2 separate regions of the Homo sapiens genome follow, and region 2 is linked to region 1. The links are contacts of gene promoters, found by promoter capture Hi-C in blood cells and fetal thymus (Javierre and others, 2016). All regions are on one chromosome and are shown on one strand. The core of a region is centred on a gene start or on the middle of the fragment in contact, and the rest is flanking DNA. Distances in the headings are between cores, read along the strand shown.

Region 1 (4,646 bases), core at 1,783-4,282:
GCCTCCCAAAGTGCTGAGATTACAGGCGTGAGCCACCGCCCCCAGTCGGTTTGATTTTTTTTTTTAATAGAGATCGGGGTCTCATTATGTTGCCAGATCTGGTCTTTTTTTTTTGAGACGGAGTCTCGCTCTGTCACCTAGGCTGGAGTGCAGTGGTACAATCTCGGCTCACTGCAAACTCCACCTTCCGGGTTCACGCCATTCTCCTGCCTCAGCCTCCAGAGTAGCTGGGACTACAGGCACCTGCTACCACGCCTGGCTAATTTTTTTGTATTTTTAGTAGAGACGGGGTTTCACTGCGTTAGCCAGGATGGTCTTGATCTCCTGACCTCGTGATCCGCCCGCCTTGGCCTCCCAAAGTCCTGGGATTATAGGCGTGAGCCATCGCGCCTGGCCCAGATCTGGTCTTAAACTGTTGGGCTCAAGCAATCCTCCTGCCTCAGCCTCCCAAAGTGCTGGGATTACAGGCAAGAGCCACCAAGCCCGGCCAACCATTGGGATTTGTATCCTAGCTTTGCCATTATTACCTGTGTCGCCCTTGCCAGGTTACTTAATCTCTCTGTGCCTCCATTTTCTCATCTTTAAAATGAGGATGAAAATATATATTTAGGCCAGGAATAGTGGCTCATGCCTGTAATCCCAGCACTTTGTGGGGCTGAGGCAAGAGGATTGCTTGAGCCCAGAAGTTCAAGACCAGCCTGGGCAACTTAATAAGACCCCTGCCTTTACAAAAAATTAAAATTAAAATAAATTAGCTCAGTGTGGTGGCCCACACCTGTAGTCCCAGTTACTTGGGAGACTGAGGTAAGAGGATCGCTTGAGCCCAGGAGGTTAAGGTTACAGTGAGCCGTGATTACACCACTGCACTCCAGCCTGGGTGACAGAGCAACACACTGTCTCAAAAACAAACAAATATAGATGCACATATATTTAATAAAGTTATTGAATAATCAGGTATGTCAATATATGTAAAGTGTTCAGGACTGGTGCAAAGAAAGAACTCAGGAAGTACTGGCTCTCATTAAGGCTATTTAGGAGAGATTAGAGCCATGCATCAAGAACAGAGATTCCAATACTCTGCCTTTTATCAGGCCCCTTCTGTACTCACTCATAACCCCTTGCTTTCTGAAGGCTCCCCACCTTTGCCCTCCCGTCCCCCAGAGCTGACCTCCTCTTGGTACCCACTCCACCAAGGCTGAGTAGTCTTCACTGCACTCCCCTGGGCTGGGAGTCTCTTACACCTGCAAGATACATCCCAGAGAGGCTGGGCATGGTCACTCATGCCTGTGGTCCCAGCACTTTGGGAGGCTGGGGCAGGCAGATCAGATCTTGAGGTCAGGAGTTTGAGACCAGCCTGGCCAAGATGGTGAAACCCCGTCTCTACTAAAAATACAAAAAAAAAATTTAGCCGGGCGTGGTGGTGCACACCTGCAGTCCCAGCTACTTGGGAGGCTGAGGCAGAAGAATCGCTTGAACCTGGGAGGTGGAGGTTGTAGTGAGCGGAGAGTGCGCCACTGCACTCCGGCCTGGGCAACAGAGCAAGCCTCCATCTCAAAAAAAAAAAAAAAAAAAAAAAAAAAAAAAATCCCAGAAAAAGGCCCCATCCATGGGCTGGATGCTCACTGCCTGGACTCCAGATAGCAGGTGCCTGTGATCCAAACCGAGGATGTTAGAGGGGCATACATACTGAAGCAGTGTCTGGTATCCATTCATTCATCAGATGTTTATTATGTGCCGGATATTGGAGTAAGTACTGAGAAGGCAGTGGGGAACAAAACGGAGCCCTGCCTTCATGGCTCTTACCATTTAGGCAACAACAGCAATAATAAGCAAGCAATGATTTAATTTTGAAAGGAAACCAGACCTGGTGGGTGACTTGGGACCCAGGAACCCAGGCATGATGCAGAGATGGGACGGAAAGGTTCTCAGGAGCCCCAGCCTGGGAGGGTGTTAGTTCCTCCGTGAGAGCTCTGCTACACCCAGCCTGGGGTGTGGGGAGGCCTCTGTGGGCACCTGAATCTTCACTCTAGATGCTAAGGTTATTCCGGGGTTGATTTGTTGTCTCTTGTTTCCACAAACAGCACAGTAGAGCCTCCTGCCTCCCTCCCTCCCCCACCTCTTCCAGACTGAGGCTATTTATTCCTAGTGACAAGCCTGAGGATCCCAGGGGGGGTGGCCTTAAGGACCTGGAGGGGCCTCGTGTCCCTAGCAGGCGCCAGTCCTCCCTCACGGACACAGGGAGGAAGCCAGAGGCTCAGACACCGCAGAGGTCCCCTCCCCTCTCCTCCACCACCCCTGAGGTGCCCCATCCTCTCACACTCCTCACACCCCACCCTAGAAGCCCAAAGATCATGGGGCCGAGGATTAGGGTCTCCCCCGGGCCTCAAAGGTCAAAACTATTCCTGGGCACTGCGGAAACCCAGGCAAGGCAGGACTTCTCAGTGTCAGGAGGCTGCTGGAAGTGGGGAGGTGGTTACCCCTGTTTTTGCTACTCAAAGTTGTGGAATAAAACCCTTTGGAGGTCAAGGCCCTATGGTGGGGAGGGGTCCTCTCTTCGTCCCATGTTTTCAGAGAACACCTTGGTGCCCGCTGACAGGCTCATGACAGCAGAGTCAAAACGTCCTCCTCCAGGCTGGATTAAGGCCGGGCTGAGTGTCACCCCTGGGGTAAGGTGAAGGGGTGGGGGGATCCGAGGAGGCCAGAGGACTCCCCCAGTGGACCATGGTCTGCGGGGTCTCGTGTCGCCGGCCTGAGATGGAATACAGCAGTCTCCCTCTGGCAGCTGGGGATGGGGGGTGGGAGGGGAGGAGAACAGAGGCTGCGGGGAGGGGACAGGGGCGGGGTCCCGGCCGCTTGAAGGTTGGGAGAGCCAGGTTAGGCCGGGCGGGAGGAGGGGGCCGGGCCGACTGGCGGCCGAAAGGGAGGTGGGGGCGGGGTCTGGCCCCCGCGGCGGGCTGGGGGGCCGGGGGCGGGGTCCGGGCGGGGCGGGCCCGCGCTCACTTCCTCGGGGAGGGGTTGGGGCCGCGCTCCCACTCGCCCACACGGTCCGTCTGCAGTCGGCAGCCTCGCCGGCAGCTCGCTCGGCCCCCGCTTGGCCCGGCCCGCAGGTAGGAGCCGCCGAGGGACGCGGCGCCCGGTTCCCGGCCCCGCCTGCGCCGCGCGCTCCCCGCTCCCGCCGCCCGCTTCGAGGTGAGCGCCCCGCCGACCCCGGCTCCCAGCCCTGGCGGTCCGCCCCCGCGCCCAGGCCGGGGAGCGAAGGGACCCGCGGAGGGCTGAGGCCAGCCGCGGCCCCGGTCCCCTGTACCCGCCGGGCTCTGGCCACGGGTGCCCGGGGCACGCCGAGCCCGGGACAGCGCCCGCCGGGACTGGACCCCTCCGGGCTATCGGGCGGGGCGGGGGCGGGGGCGGCAGCGAGAGTTGGGCGGGGGAGGGGGCTAAGTTTGAAATAGAAAAGCCGGAGAGAGACAGACAGACCGACCGACCAGAAGCGCTGGAGAAACTGAGGTTCTCGGAAAGCCCGGTGGAGCGAGAGACCGAGACAGGCAGGGACTCGAGGCACAGGAGGCTACCGAGACCACTGAAACAAGGACACACCGGGCGTACAGAGTTACTGGTGGACAGACCCGAGGCATGGGGGCCGTCCTAGGCTTTGTGGAGCATTTTCAGAAAAAGCATACGTGGGACCCCAGCGAACACATTCCCTAGGGCCCTTCCCCGGGCCTTGGAGGTGCCCTGAGGCTTGGGCGTCATTGGCCTCATGCTGAATCTGCTCTCTGAGGCCTGCAGAGACGCTCAGAGACTAGAGACAGAGACATTCAGGCGTGCAGAGGTGGCGAAAGAGACTTGGATGCAGAGACAGAGAAAGGGAGGTGGTGGGGATTGAGACATTCAGCCATGTAGACAAGAAGAGACCAAGACTTGAGATCCACAGAGGCATGGGCCCCCTGGGGGACAGCCAGTCAAGATACAGAGCCGTCCAAAACCTAAAGACAGAGACTGAAGTGTGCCCAGACACAGAGATGCTGAGTGAAGCAGAGACAGACACCAGAAACTGAGACTAAGTGGGGGCAGAGAGACCTAGGTGGTCTGACAGCTTCCAGGACAGCCCCTGACTTACCCGGGCCTGAACCATTGGGAGGTGAGGCTGTGGGGAAACAGAAACTCTGAGCCTACCGATCCCCCATGAGGCAGAGGCCCTGAGACAGTAAGTTCGAGATCAAGAAGAGCCCCACGCACACACACAGCCACCAAGACAGCCCCAACTTATTTTTGAACTCAAATCTTGGATGGGCTGCCTCAGCCCTGGGGGACCCAGGGTGAATGAACTGTTCCTCTCATGTCCCCAGAGCAGCTGCGGGATCTTGCTCCCCAACCCCCTTCCCTAAACTTCTCTGACTTCCAGGCCACATGGGGGAGAGCAGAGCTTGGGGTTGGTGCCCGGTAGCAGAGGGTGAGGGTTGAGGGAGTTGGATTTCTCCCCTTAAGTCTCCTGTCAGCTTCTAGAAGGTGGGGGAGGGGTCTGTTCTGATCCTGACTCACAGCTGTGGGACCTGGCCAGGGTCCTCCTGGACAGTGGGCATGTTGGGGGTGGGGGCAGAAGGATTGAATGGTTGGCATGGGGCATTGGAAAGGCTTCTGGGTGTCTT
Region 2 (4,055 bases), core at 480-2,979, 1.0 Mb before region 1:
ATTCTCAGGTGATCTGCCCGCCTCGGCCTCCCAAAGTGCTGGGATTACAGGCATGGGCCACCGTGCCCAGCCTGTGTGCTTTTTCCCAAATGTTTCTTCATGCTTTAGTGCAAAGGCCAGCACACTTTTCTGTAAAAGGACACAGAGTAAGTATTTTCAGCTCTGTGGCCCATGCTTTGGTCTTTGTAGCACCTACTCTACTCAAGTCTGGAGTTAGTGTGAAAACTGCCACAGACAAATGAATAGGTGTAGCAGTGTTTCTACAAAACTTTACAAAAATAGGCCAGTTTTTGTATGACCCTGCTATATTAACATACAAAACATACTGAATACAGATTCACAGAAAGGCATTACCAAATTCATTTGTCATTCATCTTTTATTTCCTTAATCAAACAAAGGTACAAATTCTAATAAGAAAAAGTGAGATCTTTATGTTAACAAGGGGCTATTCATATTGGAAAGCTGAGAATCACTACTTGGGACACAAAAGTTTGGGTCTCCAGGTCTGACGAAGACTACTATAAAGAAACCTGCTCTAACATTGTAAAGTGCATAGTCTATGCCCTAAGCTGTGCTAAATACTTTCTTTACATGGATGATTTCTTGCATTTGAAAACAAAACCCAATATGAACCTACTATTAACCTCGATTTTACAGGTAAGCAAGCCATGTTTCAGCAAGTTTAGTAATCTGGCAAGGCTGACATAACCAAATTAGTGGCAGAGAAGAAACCAAACTACAGAGCTACAACCACGCAGTCAGTCCTTTACTATGCTAGCCAACCAATCCTCCATGGTAAGAAGATTCACCAGGTTTGAAAGATTGGCTTAAATCCTTTTTTTTTTTTGAGACATAGTCTTAACTCTGTTGCCAGGCTGGAGTGCAATGGCACAATCTCGGCTCACTGCAACCTCCGCCTCATGGTTTCAGGTTGATTCTCCCGCCTCAGCCTTCCAAGTAGCTGAGATTACAGGCGCCCGCCACTACGCCCAGCTAATTTTTGTATTTTAGTAGAGATGGGGTTTCACCATGTTGGTCAAGCTGGTCTCAAACTCCAGACCTCGGGTGATCTGCCCCTCAGCCTTCCAAAGTGCTGGGATTACAGGCGTGCGCCACCCGCTGGCTTAAATTCTTGTACTCTCTGATGGTCTTCCCCTTTGGAAGATCTTAACAATTATCACTGCCTTAGGAGCTCTGATCTTCCTTTTAACTTCTGACCCAAGGATGGACACTTACTTTTTCCTCTTAAGCTTAAGACTTTATCAAGGATAATAACTGGAATTAAAATAGAGAAAAAAATTAGCTAGCTCACCAGATATTCTGAAAACACTGTTCCTGAGAAACCCTTATACGTTTTTATAGGTTGACGTCTTCCTTGGTCTATAATTTCCATGGGACAAAGACATTTCTCTACCTGGGAGTGCCCTTAAATTCAAGCTCTGGAAATCAAGGTCTAGGGAAAAATTCATTCACCAGTCTGAGACCTACCTTCCAGGTCCCCATTTTCTGTCCCAGTTGTCTTTTCTCTAGATTATAAACACTAAACAAACATGTGTGGTCTCTTTAGAGGGGATCCCAAAACCCAGCCCTGGTGGTTTGGTCTTACCTTGTGGCCTCAGAGGGCTACCTTATCATTATATGATAGCCTAACAACAATGTGGTATAGTGGGGCGGGTGGTGAGCAGGTGTCATTTTCCTTAGAGAAACCTACTCTACTTCCCAGCCAGGAGCCACTTAGTTGGAATGGGGACTGACACTTTATAGTTAAGTGAGCACATCACACTGATCTCTAAAACAAGACTTCAGTGGGGCAGCATTCCCCATTACCAGTCCAGCCTCCACAGCTTCTGATGGCTCCCACAGCTGCCCTTTCTTTATTTTGGTGTGACTAGCCCACTGCAGAGCCATTCCCATTACAGCCACTGCTATGTTCCTCTTTTAGGAACAAGTGACTACCCTGAAAAAAGAAGAGATGAAACAAATCACCCTTCAAATACAAAGTAAAATCATTCTTTAATTATTAAAAAAAAATCACTGTTGGGCTTTTTTTTTTAAAGGTCCATAAATTTTCAATGCAATGTTGAACTGGGGAAATGGTTATAGCAGCTCTCACATAAGTTATTTGAATTAATAAACATTATCACAGTATTAAGAAGGCAAGGTAAACAAATAGCTTAAGTATTTTATTTGTTTGCAACTAAGCTTGTTAACACTATATAATGAAAATGTACAAAGAATAATGTTGCAGTTTTTGGTTAGATTTAAGTCAAAGACATTCATTAATAAGGAATCTTCGAATGTGAATATTCCAGAAATTTCTCTAAGCCATCTGATCACAACAACTGTCTCTGAATATTACCTTACTTTGGAAGGTATTGGCATACATTTGAATTAAACTCAGAATTTTTCAAAATAAGCCCTAATTAAAAAAACTATTCTATATTCAAAGTAAAACAATATTAATAGAACTTTCCTTTCCAGAAACAATGAAGGAAACAAGGCATTTTGTAAAATGTGGTCCTGAACAAGTCACAGTAAAAAATAAATGTATACTTAACTTCCACCTCCTCAAAACAGAGGCTACTTTCTGTTCCTCAGCCTTGGAAACAAGGTGAAGAACAGCCTATATGCGACTTCGGGCAGGGGGTTGCCAAAACAAAGCTGAAGCAGTTGACCATGGACACCTCAAAAGAATTTGGGAGAACCCGACCAAAGGATCCAAATTCTATGTTTTTTTTTTTTTTTTGAGACGAAGTCTCGTTTTGTTGCCCAGGCTGGAGTGCAGTGGCATGATCTGTGCTCACTGCAACCGCCACCTCCAGGGTTCAAGTGATTCTCCTGCCTCAGCCTCCCAAGCAGCTGGGATTACAGACGCCTGCCACCACGCCCGGCTAACTTTGTTGTATTTTTAGTAGAGATGGGGTTTCACCATATTGGCCAGGGTGGTCTCGAACTCCTGACCTCAAGTGATCCGCATGCCTCGGACTCCCAAAGTGCTGGGATTACAGGCGTGAGCCACTGCGCCCAGCCCAAATTATATTTTTTAATAACTAATACAAAGGTGAAGTGGCTCCTCCCAAGTAGCAGTGCTGCCGGGGCCTGGCCCAGGCCTAGCCCTGGGCTCACCTCTCATGCTCCCAAGCCAACCCTGATGCTCCTGGCTCCAGGGTAGACCTTTTCCCTTTAGAGGTTCAGTGTCCAGGGAGCTCTATGATAATTGTGTGAATGAGGTGAGCGCTGACTCCATGTGAGTATTTTAAGGCTTGGAGTCAAAGAATTAACCTAACATGCCCAGGCAGAGTCCATGTGTCAATGGCCCGTCTCCAGTTTGTTCTAATTTCTCACCACGTGTCTGTAGATATAGGACCGCAGACCTTCGCTTTATCATCATAATCACATCTAATGTCCATCCTAACTTACGATTCATATTCTGTGCCTGGAAACAGTCCCTGTATTTAACAATACCTACACATAAAAACAATCCACTGTTACAACTTGTATGGTCACAAAACATTAATGATCTTCTTTAGACCAAGCAAATGTTTTTTTACCATAATTGTCGTGCACCAAATTCACAGCCAGAATCCCCAAGATCAAAAAAAAATTTTTGCACAATACAAATAATAACTTAAAATACACATACACACATATACACACACTCTCACACGCACTTCTTACAGAACTGTGCTTGGGGAAACTCCATTTGTTGAATGCCACTGAAGGCATATTTTGCTAAACTGCTGCTCCAGGTATTTTTGTTTGGAAAATCTATCACAGTAGGGCACAGCTGTTTATTGGATGAGCAGAAAAGAAAGATATGCTTGTGGCAACCAGAAAGTTTTACGGTCTTTCAAGTTGTATAAAATGGACCTGCAGAAACGTTTAAGTGTTCTCAGGATGCAAAGTTGGAGCTGAAATGTGACATCAAACCAGTTGCAAAAAGTGTACAGCAGCCATCTCTTGAGGTCAAACCTGGTACCCAGATATGTGACAAAGCTTCATGACACATCTGTAAATTAAGAATAAAAAACAAAAAGGGTAAGAATACTAAAAA

The links. The method cuts DNA at HindIII sites, captures the fragments that hold promoters and counts their contacts. A CHiCAGO score of 5 or more calls a contact.
Region 2: a contact is called between a fragment that was not itself captured here and the fragment with the promoter of FHL3 in region 1, in 1 of 17 cell types (erythroblasts). The highest score is 5.1, in erythroblasts.

The regions. Positions count from the first base shown.
Region 1 is chr1:38,003,900-38,008,545 of GRCh38, reverse strand. FHL3 (four and a half LIM domains 3) reads left to right here and starts at 3,032. Exons shown (of 6, transcript NM_004468.5): 1 at 3,032-3,189. RefSeq lists silencers at 2,912-2,971, 3,002-3,361 and an enhancer at 4,214-4,646. The HindIII fragment of the contact is 9,980 bases long and covers 1-4,646 here.
Region 2 is chr1:39,004,000-39,008,054 of GRCh38, reverse strand. It overlaps AKIRIN1 (akirin 1), which reads right to left. Exons shown (of 5, transcript NM_024595.3): 5 at 1,996-4,010. The coding sequence ends at 4,000. Among named protein-coding and RNA genes, the nearest start is that of AKIRIN1, 15 kb to the right of the region's middle. The HindIII fragment of the contact is 952 bases long and covers 1,254-2,205 here.